2 separate regions of the Homo sapiens genome follow, and region 2 is linked to region 1. Evidence: promoter capture Hi-C in 16 types of primary human blood cells and fetal thymus (Javierre and others, 2016). All regions are on one chromosome and are shown on one strand. The core of a region is centred on a gene start or on the middle of the fragment in contact, and the rest is flanking DNA. Distances in the headings are between cores, read along the strand shown.

Region 1 (6,679 bases), core at 407-2,906:
CACTGCACTCCAGCCTGGGCAAGAGAGTGAGACTCCATCTCAAAAAAATAAAAATAAAAATAAAAAACTTGGATAAAGTGTAAAGATAAAAATCACTATTCTTGGGCAGGGGTCCCAGCTGTAGCCCAAGCTGGAGAACTAGACTGGCTTGGCATTAATTTGCTTGGGGCAGGAGAAGGGTCATCTGAAAGATATGGGAAAAGCTGAGGTTGCCCCTGGGAAGACTAGGGAAGCCTGCCCCCGGGCCAGCCCCTTGAATATGTCCAACTGAGGAGGTGGAAAGAAGTTCAAGGTAGCCAGGGAGACAAAAGTTGTTCACTTTGGTGCACATGTGGAACCAACATGGGACAAACAGGCATTTTGTGCTCGTCCAGGGAACATGACTTCTTCGGCTCCCACACAATTTGTAGCTGCAGGAGTGGCAGAGCACCAGAGTGGATGCAGGCCCAGATGTTCTCTGGGTTAGGTGTTAAGGACTTGTGGGAGTCATCAGGCAGCAGGCATTTGCCCCAGTGTCAGAGGTGTTTAAGCCAGAATTACTCCATCTTGAATAAGGGCTGGGTAAAATGAGGCTGCATTCATAGGAGGTTAGGCATTCTAAGTCACAGGATGAGACAGAAGGTTGGCACAAGATACAGGTCATACAGACCTTGCTGATAAAACAGGTTGCAGTAAAGAAGCTGGCTAAACGCCACCAAAACCAATATGGCAATGGGAGGGACCTCTGGTGGTCCTCACTGCTCATTATGCACTAATTATAATGCATTAGCATGCTAAAAGACACTCCCACCAGCAAGCACCATGACAGTTTACAGACGCCATGACACCATCATGAAATACTCTATATGGTCTAAAAAGGGGAGGAAGCCTCAGTTCCGGGAACTGCCCACCCCTTTCTCTGAAACTCATGAATAATTCAACCCTTGTTTAGCATATAATCAAGAAATAACCAAAAAATGGGTAACCAGTAGCCCTGGAGCTGCTCTGCCTATGGAGTAGCCATCCTTTTACTTCTTTGCTTTCTTAATAAACTTGTTTTCACTTTACTCTATGGGCTTGCCCTGAATTCTTTCTTGCATGAGATCCAAGAACCCTCTCTTAGGGCCTGGATCGGGACCCCTTTCTGATAACACCAGGAGACACCCTGGGTGGATTTCCTGAACCGACCGATAGATGAGCCTTCCACGCGGGAGACCTGGATCCTTATCGTCTTTGTGGCCCCTTCCATCTGCACGTGCGGACGAGGTCCGGGTCGCACTCGGGCGGTCAGCCTGGCACGCACAGCGCCGGCGTGCAGGGGGCCTTGGGTGCCACCGAGTCCGGGAGGAAATCTAGGCCGCCATCCGTCCGGAGACTGGCACCTGTGACCACCACCCAACATGTATTGAACAAGGGCTTGGAGGTCCTTTCTCTAAGGCCGCACCGATAAACGATTACCGACTGTTGACCTCACGGCCCCTTCGCTTCCGGCCGCACCGCCTCGCTGCCCACGCCTGCGCACTCAGGCACCGCAGGTAGGAGGAACGTACCAACTGCGAGGCGGGGGGTGCGCGCGAAGACCCCCGCAGGCTGCGCTTCCGGAAGTAACCCCTGGCGCATCCCGGAATCCAGAGCGCCCACTACGGCCTTTGGCCAGGCCCCCTGGGCGCGTTCCGGGAGCTCAGGCCTGCGGCGCTGGGAGAAGCACGCTGGCCAACAAGTTGGGTGGTGGGCACGCGGCCCAGGGGTCAGGGGCCGCCAGGCGGCGGGCGGCGGGGCTGCGGCTCTTACCTGCCGAGGAGGCGCCGGCTCTGCGGTGCGGAGTTGCGCCGGACTTCCCAGCTTGGCCAGTGGCTCCGCAGGCTGCCGGCTCCACCCCTCAGGTAAGCGGGGACTGGGCCGCCGAGGTTCAGGGAAGGGGGCGGCTGTCGGGGCCCGTGCCGGCCCCGGGGGGCCACCTGCTGGGCCAGCGGTGCCCTCGCGCCGAAACACACTGGGAGAGGCCAGAATCTTCCGGAACAGCCAGCCCTTACCCATCTCTCCCTCTGTGCCGAGAACTGCCCTGAAATACTGTGGTATTAATTAACTCGTTTAACACTAACAATCTCATGAGGCGGGTGCTGTTACTATTCCCGTAATGTAGACGAGGAAACCGAGGCGTGTGCTGGAGCAGGATCACGGCCGTGCTCAGAGACGGGCTCTGGATGCCATGCTCTGACTCCATTGTTAGCCCTAAGCTTCCAGAAAGTAGCAGAGTGCTGCCGTGTCGTTTGTAACAGATCTCACTTTGTGTCATTTTTTTTGCACAGTATGAAACCTAATGATGCATGATTATTATTTAAAACATCTTGCTTAGACTTTATAAGTAGTCAAATTTGCGTGTGGGACAAAACCCCAAAACATGCAATGGCTTGCTCTCCTCTTTTCCTTTCACACGTTCATCTCCTCCTATCCCTTTCTCTCACCACCTTTCAATCTTCTCACAGATGTTGTGGAGGAAGATGAGACTTGAGGGCCCAGCAGGTGCTTAAAATCCCCTGCCTGGTGGGGGTGGAGTAGACACTCTGTCCCCCTGCAGTGCTGGAGTTGAGAGCAGAGGGGCTGGAGAGGGACTGGGCGGAGTGAGAAAGGCCTGGCATAATCATGGAATGCCCAGGGTGGGGTTCTACTTCTCTTGCAGGCACAAGAGAAGTAGAAGAGTGGCCGCTTTCCTTCTGGGCACGCACTTGGGAAAAGGCTTGGTGAGAGCAGCGAGAAGAATAGGTCTAATTTCTTGAGCCAGTGTGCGGAGGTGCTTCCCAGCCCAGGCTAAGCCAGATCACTCAGCCAGCCGCTGGCTGCCTTTACAGATGTACGGCTCCCCGTGAGCAATCAACATGCCTGGCTCTCAGGCATAAGCTGCCTCACTTCCCTTCTGCACAGCACTCCAGGACTTGCCTGCTACCAGACCCATCCTACTTTCTCTGTCAGGAAAAATGAGAGTTCTTCCTGGTCTCTTGAGGCCAATCCCTTCCACCGCCTGTGCCCTGGATCCCTTTCTCCAGGAAGCTTCTCTTCCCTGTGTAGTTAGCCTCCCCGCTCTTCCCAGGTCACCTTCTCTCTGTTTAGGGACAGAGCCAAGCCTTTTCCCTCCCATCCCCACCTCCAGCATTCCCGGTTCCTGCTTCTCCCCCACTTCCTGCTGTACCGCCCACTGAAGGGACCTTTGACCCCGCTGACCACTGCTTTTGGAAAGTCTTTTCTTGGTTTCCCTAACTTCACTTTACTTTGGTTTTTCCTTGTCTCTCCCCTCTGCCTCTCAGTCACCTTTGAGATCTGCTCATCCTCTCACCTCCCTGTATTGTCAGCATTACCTGGGCAGCCCCCTCTGGTGTTTTCCTTCAGTTTCTCTAGAAACTTGCCTGAAGATTTGCCCCAAAATAGCCCACATGGACCTGTATGAGGAAAGAGGCTCACTGTGGAGGCGCTCTCCATCATTCCTCCTCTTCCACTTGAGGCTTAGGCATGGGCCACCTCCTGAACAGCTCTCCCCACAGTCTCCTCCATGCATTGTGCCATCACCCCGCCCTGCCGTCACCCCGGCCTGGCCCGCTTTCCCTTTTGCCTCCCAGGGATGTGCCTGCTTCCCATGTGGCCTGGCTAGGGCGCTTTCCTGACTGCTGCCCACATGATCGACTATGGGCAGGCGTGCAGCCCAAAAGGCCGTGCTTCAGCTTAGAAGCCCTTGGAATCTTGTCTTGTTGTGGTTGTAGGCCTCCAATGTGTTGTCAGCTGTGGTGATGTGTGTCACAAGTAACTTCTTTTTTTTGAGACAGGGTCTGGCTCTGTTGCTCAGGCTGGAATGCAGTGGTGCAATCACGGCTCACTGCAATCTCCACTTCCCTGCTCAAGCCATCTTCCTGCCTCAGACTGCCAAGAAGCTGGGACCACAGGCACAGGCCATCACAGCTGGCTGATTTTTTTGTATTTTTTTTGTAAAGACAAGGTTTCGCCATCTTGCCCAAGCTGGTCTCAACCCCCTGAGTTCAAAGCAGTCCACCCACCTTGGCTTCCCAAAGTGCTAGGATTACAGGCGTGAGCCACCACACCTGGCCACAAGTAACTTCTTAGTTATAAAGTACTGAAATTTATCAATGACTTTCTTTTTAAAATTTACGTTTTAGATTCATTTGGATTCAAGGTTGGCTCTCAACAGTGCCAGCTGCACTGTCATCCTAAAGTACTTCTGTGGAAGAGAACATGGTGGTGTCACTGTTGTACCAGTGATGACACAAAATCCCAGATCTACCTGACGGGCCTGCGAGGGTTGAAGATTGTGAAGCAATAGCCTAAGGTAAACAACACCTTGCAAGACGGGTCTAAGCTCTTCAGTGTAATAGACCCTGTTTCTCAGTAGGTCAGCCCGGGGGCCCCCCAGGGATCCCTCCCCGCCTCATAGCACCATACCCCACTTTCCCCCTGGTCTAATGATGAGCCCATTTCTAGGTTGTCGTCTCATCCTGAGCCCCAAGTGCCAGCCAGGCAGCTACTCTCCTCTGTTCATATCTTGAAGGCAGAGTGCTGGCTCATAGTAGACATTTGATGAATTTCTGTTAAATGATTGAGTGAATCAAGAGTATCTGCAGAGTATAGCATTTATGATGAGACAAAGCTAATTGGGAAACAGAACAAGATTGGTGTCCTGGGGTAACTGGGTAGGTCTTAAGATGAAGATTTTGGGGTGTGCTGGGTGCAGTGGCTCACACCTGTAATCCCAATACTTTGGGAGGCTGAGGCAGGGGGATTGCTTGATCCCAGGAGTTCAAGACCAGCTTGGGCAACATGGTGAAATCCCGTCTCTACAGAAAACACAAAAATTAGCTGGGTGTGGTGGTGCACATCTGAAGTCCCAGCTACTTGGGAGGCTGAGTTTGGGAGGATTACTTGAGCCCAGGAGGCAGAGGTTGCAACAAGGTAGATCATGCCACTGTACTCCAGCCTGGGTGACAGAGCAAGACCCAGTCTGAAAAAAAAAAAAAAAAAATACTTTGGAGGGTGACCCCGTTCTGCAGATGGCCTCTGGAGGCCTGGATGTTCACACTCTGGGGTTGCAGTTTCCTCAATCATGAAGTGAGAGTTAAGTCCCCTCCAGTGTGACATCCAAGAGCAGTTGTGGGCCCAGGACAGCAGCCTGTGTTTCCTTTGCAGCTTTACCTAGCCCCTACACAAGCGCCACCTTGCAGTAGGCCTTCAGTTCTTGGATTTATTGGTGGCTGAAAGTTCTTGCGAGATGGACTTGAAGTTGTTGCCACTTAACCCTTCTGAGGTTCTTCTGGCTGGGAGGAGCTCCTCTTTCTGGCCAGAGTCTTGCTTGAGCCTTCTTAGCCATCTCGTCACCTGTTATAGGCAGCCCTGCCATCTCTGGTGACCCTTTTTAAACATTACCCTGGTGAGTAATGTTTAGCATCACTCATTGTCAGATCTTTTTTATCTTTTTTTTTTTTTGAGTTTCAGTACCAGTAAGTCTTTATGTATTCATTATATCTTTCCAGGGAAAGGAGAAGGGAAGTGAAAAGGGTCAGCATGTGTGTTGCAAAGTGATTAGAAAATGGGAAAGGAAGTACCTGGTACAGAAAAATCAGCCATCCAATAGATGCACCCCAGAGATGGAGTAACCAAAGCCCAAGGGGCCCTGGTCTCCTGCAGTTCAGGACTGAGGGGCAGGGATCAGGGAAGGTACAAGCCTTTCTACCCTCCCTCCCTGCCCCTAAATTCAAGATTTCACATAAAGCTTTGGTTTCTAGCAGTAAACATGGGGTTACATTCATCTGTCTCCTTTTAAACAATCTTGTAGCCACTTTGACATAAGTTCTTGCACCGGGCCGGGCGTGGTGACTCACACCTGTAATCCCAGCACTTTAGGAGGTCAAGGAAGGAAGATTGCTTGAGCCCAGGAGTTGGAGTCCAGCCTGGGCAACATAGTGAGACCTTGTCTCTACAAAAAAATTAAAAGAATTAGTCAGGTGTGTTGGTGTACACCTGTAGTTCCAGCTACTTGGGAGCTGAGGTGGGAGGATCGCTTAAGCCTGGGAGGTTGAGGCTGCAGTGAGCCAAGATTGTACCACTCCACTACAGTCTGGGCGACAGAGCAAGACCTTGTCTCAAAAAAAAAAAAAAAAAGTTTCTTGCACTTGCGTAAAAGTTCCTAAGTGACTTAGATATATACTCATATTCCTTTGCCTGGTCTCCTGACCCCACTTCTACGTGGAAGGCCCCCGGTTGCTTCTCCCTTCTTTGAGATTACAGATTAAGTAGGTTTGATCCATCCCAATAAAGCAGTGTCTTAAGTGTTTGGGGTGAACCACATTGACTCAGGTTTGGAACAAGAGATGGAGGGTTCCTGACTTCTTCAGGCTGTTCTCATACATCATTTAAGAGTTGCAGAGACAGCCTGAGAATTCAATATATGCGTGTGTGGGTATGTAGGTTTTCTTTTGGGGTAGGTGAATGGAGAAGAAGGTACGGTAGAAGTCAAGTTTTTAGGGCAGAAGATCTGGTCCAAAATAGGAAATAGAGGAAGGGGAACACAAAGAAAGGATAGTTCAAAATCCCTACTTCAATATGGGGGTCCCCCAAACTCATGTTTTACATCCTTTTTGCCTGGTTCAGAACTTTCTGTAAAGATGCTTTGGCCATTTTTCTCTCAATACAAAAAAGTTTG
Region 2 (7,738 bases), core at 132-2,631, 550 kb after region 1:
AGGGAGACATACTCAGTCCATTGCAAGATGTCACCATTAGAGAAATCCAGTTGAAGGTTCACAGAACTCCGTACTCTTTTTGCTACCTCTTGTGAGTTTATAATTACGCCAAAACTAAAAAGCTTTCTTAAAAATATATATACAAATTCTCAAGTAAAATATAGTAAACTTGTTACTTTTTCAGGTATTTGATGCCTTTATCTGTAAATTCTTTCAAAGGAAATATGGCATGAACAAATATTGAGACAGGGATGTTTCACCAACTCTCAACTCCCCTTATTCAAGGGTTGGATCATAATAACTACATCTAAGTAATCCAGAAATTATCATTTTACTGAAAACCACGAAGACTATGTAGATGGAGAGAGATGAAAGAAGTACTATTTTTAAATCTGCAGCTTTATATCAATATACATAAATACATACCAGATAACCATATTTTATAAGAATACATATATATTCAAGGGTATATGTCAAATTTTAAAAAGAAAGGGGATTTGGCGTGGTCCTATCATTATGAAAGGGGATTCGGCGTGTTCCTGTCCTTATTTTACTCATCATGTCATCCCCTATCGTCTACCAGGCGTCCAGGCGCTGAGGACCAACCTTCTCTTCCTCCTCTGGCTAAGAAAACAATCAGCTTTCCCAGAGCCACCGCTGTCTGGACGCTAGATGGCGCCGCTGAGCTCCCCCCACCCCCCGCCTTTCCCCCACCCCCCCGCCTCCTCCCCACCACCCCGCCCACACCTGCGGTTCCTGCAGAGGGGTTGCTCAGGTGACCGGGCCGTTTGGACCACTTGGTTCAAATTCAGGATCCAGGTAGATGCAGCTGGGGAAAGCAGGGAGGAATGGGAGGCTACAGACAGAATGACCACATGCGTGCCTTCCTGCAGGGCTTGTCTTCTCCAAAGCCCCTGGTCAGTCACATGTTTTACTTGGCTCCCTTCCTTCTTCCTCGCCTTCTCCAGACCCTCTAAGCATGTGCCTTTGTCTCTTCCCAAACCTCCTGAGTCGCCTGAGGCCCTCTGGTGGTTCAATTCTTTATTGGAAGAACAAGCAACATGTTTACCCCAAGGGTTTCCACGGAGAAATACAAACACGTCTATTATTGGCAAGAAAAGCAGCACTGATTTGTTGAAGAACTAGGGAATTGTTCTAATTCTGCAGATTAGTCTCTTCTTGTCTTTGGTTGAAGTAACACAACCATCTCCATAGAGGTTCCTAAGCATAGAGGAAGATTGTATTGTAACAATACAAGGCTGCCGTAACTATGTAATTGGCCATAATTGAAGACAAGAATGGTGGGAAGTATGGGTTTGCAATTACCTAATATTCCTGTCCTAACCCATTTCAGGAGATCTTGCTGCGAGGTGCATGTTACCCATATAACAGACCCTGGGAGTATACCCAGGAGCAGTGGTGCGGATCACAGAAGGGGCTTTAAGACGCCCCTGGTGTTCTATGGCCATTAGCTACCAGTAGGAGCAGCTGCACCCCTGGCTGACCACAGATGTGGCTGTCAAACACAGTGAGTTAACAAAGGACAGTGAAACAGGGGGACGTGCAAGTCAGAGGAGATGCCTGCTTCCTCCTAGATCCCCACCATTTTCCTGGCTTTCTACTCTATTCCCAAAAAGAAGACACACTGGGGTAGAGGGCTGAGGGGAATAATTCAGTCCACAGATGCAGTTTTCTCTCTTTTTGCTACCATGGTTCTGAATGAAGAGCTAATATTATACTATTCCCACCTGTGATGAGCCCCAGTCCTTTTGATTCTTTTTCTTCTTCATCATCCATCCAAACGTCCCCAAGTGGTAAACAGGCCAGCAAACCTGTTATCCTCTCTTCTGTCCCTTCCACACATGTTTTAGCTTTAGTGGAAGCTCACAGAATAACCCTCAATTATCTGTTGTGGTCTGTGGCATTACCTTCTTAAAGGAAAGCTGATGGGTTCTTTCAACAGGTTTGGGGTCCACTCCCAGCTAACAATTAGTGTGACCTTAGCCGAGCACAGTGTCTCACGCCTGTTATCCCAGCACTTTGGGAGGCCGAGGCGGGTGGATCACGAGGTCGGAGATCAAGACCATCCTGGCTAACATGGTGAAACCCCATCTCCACGAAAAATAGAAAAGAAAATTAGCTGGGCGTGGTGGCGGGCGCCTGTAGTCCCAGCAACTCATGAGGCTGAGGCAGGAGAATGGTGTGAATCAGGGAGGCTGAGCTTGCAGTGAGCCGACATCGCGCCACTGCAGTCCAGCCTGGGTGACAGAGCAAGACTCCATCTCAAAAAAAATTGTGTGACCTTGTTTTCCTTTACCATTGTTTCTAGTTGCCCAGGAATCTAGTGGGAAGATGTGGCTATGGTCTGGGGCAGGATATTTTGGGAAGCCTGGTGTCCAGGGATATTAGGCAAACAAACTTTTGCATTGCACTTAATATTTCAGAAACCCAGCTGAATAGCTCTTATTTTTATGGCACTAAGAAAGTAAATCTTAAATCTTTGCTCTTAACACCATTAAGACAAAATTATTATGAAAATTGGACAAAGTGCCTTATAGCAGCTGATATATTTAAAACATCAATGATTGTACCCTTAGCATTGTTTTATTTTTATTTTTTAAAATTATCTAAACATTGTTTCAAAGCTTGTGAAACTACTAAAAGACAAAGGATTGTAAATGTCAATGAAAGGAAAAGTAAAACAGCAAGTATTTTAGCATACGGGGGCAATCAAGTCATAAAGAAAAAGGGTTAGTAGCTCACTAGACAATAAATTATTATAAAGAAGAGCCAAGAAAAGTATTGCTTTGAAACTTTTTACTTTTAACCTTCAGCCTTACTGAAGAATTTGTTCACTATACTTTAAAAATTTATTATTCTGATCATATTTTCCTTGATTTAAGAGTAGTGTCTTCAACATTAGCTGATATACCTACTAATAGCATCCCACGTCCTACCATCATTTCTTACATCTGACATCTTCTGCTGTTGATCCATAGGTTAACAAAACAAAACAGAAACTACACACAGAAAGAAAAAGAAAGGGAAGAAAGAAAAAAGAAGGAAGAGAAAAAAGCAGAGACCACTTCCAGAATGATTGTATGAGGAGCTCTGCAGACCTGCTCCCCAGCAAAACACTTATATCTAGTTAAATGATTTTTAAGCATTTAAAGTCTCTGGAAATTGTTCCCAATAAGAACAATGAGAATCTATGACACTTGAGCCATGACTCACTTCCTCTCTCCTCCATCCCCCCAACTCACTTAACAGAAGCTCCACTCTTCATGGACTTAGCCAGGAAAACACAGCTCCCTCTCCATCCAGCTCCCAGTCAAGCAATACAATGGCTCCCCAGAAGAGGCAGGCCACCAGAATTCCTCAGCCCCCATTTTGCACAGGCTAAATTGTAGATGAGTGCAGCTGAGAGAATGGAAGCTTCTCTCCTCCACCCAGTCCCCACTCATAGGTGGAGACTACCCCAGGTGATGCAGGCTGAAATTACTGAAGCCCCAATTGCGTTTGGATCAGAGGTTCCATGCTACAACAGCAACCTGAGAAGACAAGAGGCTACTGCCACCACGCAGAGCCCTGCTCTGTAAAGCAGGAGGGCTCTGAGAGAAGCCAGCCACAGCCCCTACCCCCAGGTCTTGAGCAGTGACTCAAAGATTTTGCCCAAAGGAAGAGGTAGATCATAAGAACAGAGAGCACTGAAGCTCTCCCCCGACCCCCCAAGAAACTAACTTGATTTAAAACAGGATGTAGAGAAGTTCAAGCATAAGGGAACTCGCAAAAACAATGGAGATTTTGGTGGTAAACAATAAAGATAATGGGATAAACTATATGCCAGCCAGTTTACCAGAGAAAACAAAACAAATAGCTAAGAAGAGTCCTTCCACTGTCTGAACAAACCCCAAAGACTGGACTCAAAACAATCCTACAAAGGGACCCAAATTTATCTGGATCATACTGTGAAGCATTGCATACTCCAGGCATTGTAGAAAAACAATAGAAAATCAGCCAGTAATTAGTGTACCCTGACAGCTGGGTGTGATGCCAACAGAGACTGATGGCTTAGCAAAGAGATCAGGAAATGAGAAAATTAAAGAGAGGCCGGTTAAAACTTCTGTCACCCCAGATGACTGACTGTACATGTACCTAAGGCTGTGCCCTCTGAGGAGTGAAATCAGAGGCTTCACATTATGGGGAAATACACTTCACAAAATAGTCAAGCAAAGTCACTAAACAAATAAGCCAAAAACAACAAGAAGCCTTGGCCAGGAGTAAGGAGTACGTGGAGGGGAGGGCAGCATCAGTATCCAGAGTTGCTCCAATATATTATCTAAAATATGTTATCTAAAATGATCAGCTTTTAACAACAAAGCATTATGAGACATGCAAAGAAACAGAAAAGTATAACCCACAGAATAAAAAAACCCGGCAACAAAAACTCTGTGAGAGGGCCCAGATGGGGGAATTAACAGAGACATCAAAGCAGCTGTTATAAATATGGTCAAAGTACTAAAGGAAACTATGCTTAAAGAAGTGAATAAGGTTATGACAATGTCCACTCAAATAGAGAATATTAATATAAAAACAGAAAGTATTTTTTAAAAGAACCAAATGGAAATTCTGGAGTTGAGAAATATAATAACTAAAATGAAGAATTTGCTAGAGGAGCTGAGTAGTGGATTTGAACTGGAAGAAGAAAAAATCAGCAAACTTGAATACAGATCAATAAAGATTATGCAATTTGAAAAGCAGAGAGAAAAAAAGCAGAAAGAAAAATGAACAGAGCCTCAGAGAAATGTGTGACATTATTAAGTGTACCAAATATGCAAAATGGGAGTAACTGAAGGAGGAAGAGAGAGAAGAAAACAGAAAAAAAAATCTAAGAAATAATGCCTGAAAACTTCCCAAATATGATGGAAAACATTAATCCACATGTTCAAGAAGCTCAACAAGCTTCAATTAGGAGAAACAAAAACAGATTTAACCCAGACACATCATCTTAAAAATGTTGAAAGCCAAAGACATAAAGAAAATATTGAAATCACCGAGAGAAAAATACTAGTCACATACAAGGGAACCCCAATGAGATTAACAATTGACTTTTCATCAGAAATAATGGAGGCCAGAGGCACTGAGATAACATATTTAAAGTGCTGAAAGAAAAAAAACTGTCAAGCAAGAATCTTATATCCAGCAATATTGTTTTTTTAAAAATGAAAGTAAAATAAAACCATTCTTAGATAAACAAAAACTAAGAGAATTCCTTGCTGGCATGCCACCTCACAAAAAATAGCAAAATAAATTCTTTAGGCTGAAAGCAAATGGCCTAGACAGTAACTTAAACCCACAAACAAAATTTAAAGAGCACCAATGTAGATAATTTTGTAATTATAAAAACAATAGTGTAAATGCATATTTCTTCTTCTTTCTTTACTTAACTAATTTTAAAAGCAATTGTGGGCTCTGTGTGTGTGTGTGTGTGTGTGTGTGTGTGTATGTGTTTAAAATTGTATTGTTGGGTCTACACATATAGAAATGTATTTATTTTACAATAATAGCACAAAACCAGTAGGTGGGAGCAAAGCTGCACTGGAATAAGGAAATATCAGCTGATGGTAACTTGAATCCACAGGTACAATAAAAAGAGCCAAAAATGATAAATAAGAAGGTTAATATAACAAAATCTATAAATACATACTTGCTTTCCTTTCTTCTCTCAGCTTCTTTAAAAGGTACAGAATTCCATAAAGTAATAGTTATAACTATGTTATTTTGGGTTTGCAACATATATAGATATAATATGTATAACAATAATGACACAAAAGGAGAACAGAATATAGAGCTATACAAAAGCAGCATTTCTATAACTCGTTGGAATTAAGTTAGTATAATCTGAAGCAGATTCTGATAAGTTAAAATGTGTATGGTAAGGCCTAGAGCAACCACTAAGAAAATAACTAAAAAAAAAAATACAGATAAATGAGATTAACCAAGAAAAGAAGAGAGACTATCCAAATAAGCTCAATTAGAAATGAAACTGGAGATATTACAACCAATACCACAGAAATACAAAAATCATTCAAGGCTACTATGAATAGCTTTACACACACAAACTAGAGAATCTAGAGGAAATAGATAAATTCCTGGGAACATACAACTCTCCTAGAATAAATCAGGAAGAAATATAAACCCTGATCGGACCAATAACAAGTAGTGAGATTTCAACAGTAATAAAAAAAATTTCCAACAACAACAAAAGTTCAGGACTAGATGGATTCACAGCTGAATTCTATCAGACATTCAAAGAAGAATCAGTACCAATCCTACAGAAACTTTTCAAAAGATACAGAAAGAGGGAATCCTCCCTAAATCATTCTATGAAGCCAGTATCACCCGAATACCAAAACCAGGAAAGGACATAACAAAAAAAGAAAACTACAGACCAATATCCCTGATGAACATAGAGGCAAAAATCCTCAACAAAAATACTAGCTAACCAAATCCAACAGCATATCAAAAAGATAATCCACCATGATCAAATGGGTTTCATCCCAAGGATGCAGGGAATGTTTAGCATACTCAAGTCAATAAATGTGATCTCTCACATAAACAGAATTAAAAACAAAAATCATCTGATCATCTCAATAGATGCAGAAAATAATTTTATAAAATCCGGCATTGCTTTATGATAAAAACCATTAACAAAATAGGCATAAAAGGGACTTACCTCAAAGTAATAAAAGCCGTATATGACAAACCCACAGTCAACACCATACTGAATGGGGAAAAGTTGAAAGCATTCCCCCGATAAATGGAATAAGACAAGTATGCCCACTTTCACCACTTCTATTTAACATAGTACTAAAAGTCCTCGCCAGAGCAATCAGACAAGAGAAAAAATAAAGGGGATCCAAATTGGAAAATAGGAAGTCAAATTGTCGCTGTTCACCAATGATATGATCATGTACCTAGAAAACCCTAAAGACTCATCCAAAAACCTCCTAGATCTGATAAACAAATTCAGTGAAGTCTCAAATTACAAAATCAATGTACACAAATCAGTAGCACTGCTATACAGCAGCAACAACCAAGCTGAAAATCAAATCAAGAACTCAATCCCTTTTATAACAGCTGTAAAAATAAAATACTTAGGAATGTACTTACCCAAGAAAGTGAAAGATTTCTACAAAGAAAACTACAAAACACTGCTTAAAGAAATCATAGATGACACAAAAAAATGGAAACACATCCCACACTCATGGATGGAAAGAATCAATATTGTGAAAATGACCGTATTGCCCAAAGCAATCTACAGGTTCAGTGCAATTCCTATCAAAATTCCATCATCATTCTTCATGGAACTAGAAAAAACAAATCTAAAATTTATATGGAACCAAAAAAGAGCCCACATTGCCAAAGCAATACTAAGCAACAACAACAACAAAAAATCAGGAGGCATTACATTACCCAACATCAAATTATCCTGCAAGGCTATAGTTACCAAAATAGCATGATACTGGTATAAAAATAGGCAGGTATACCCACGTATACCAATGGAGCAGAATAGAGAACCCAGAAATAAAGCCAAATACTTATAGCCAACTGATCTTTGGCAAAGCATACAAAAACATAAACTGGGAAAAAAGAAACACCCTATTCAATAAATGGTGCTAGGAAAACTGGCAAGCTACATGTAGAAGAATAAAACTGGATCCCCATCTCTCACCTT

Evidence for each region. Contacts are between HindIII fragments. The CHiCAGO score rates a contact against its expected background, and 5 or more counts as called.
Region 2: a fragment that was not itself captured here is called in contact with the fragment with the promoter of LRRC61 in region 1 in 8 of 17 cell types (non-activated CD4 T cells, total CD4 T cells, endothelial precursors and 5 more); the score reaches 7.9 in non-activated CD4 T cells.

The regions. Positions count from the first base shown.
Region 1 is chr7:150,321,699-150,328,377 of GRCh38, forward strand. LRRC61 (leucine rich repeat containing 61) reads left to right here and starts at 1,657. Exons shown (of 3, transcript NM_001142928.2): 1 at 1,657-1,862; 2 at 4,143-4,312. ACTR3C (actin related protein 3C) reads right to left here and starts at 1,847. Exons shown (of 8, transcript NM_001164458.2): 1 at 1,771-1,847. RefSeq lists enhancers at 877-986, 1,037-1,096, 2,417-2,486 and a silencer at 1,707-2,026. The HindIII fragment of the contact is 5,059 bases long and covers 1-2,214 here.
Region 2 is chr7:150,876,262-150,883,999 of GRCh38, forward strand. LOC105375567 (a long non-coding RNA gene) reads right to left here and starts at 869. Exons shown (of 5, transcript XR_928171.3): 1 at 748-869. The HindIII fragment of the contact is 2,523 bases long and covers 121-2,643 here.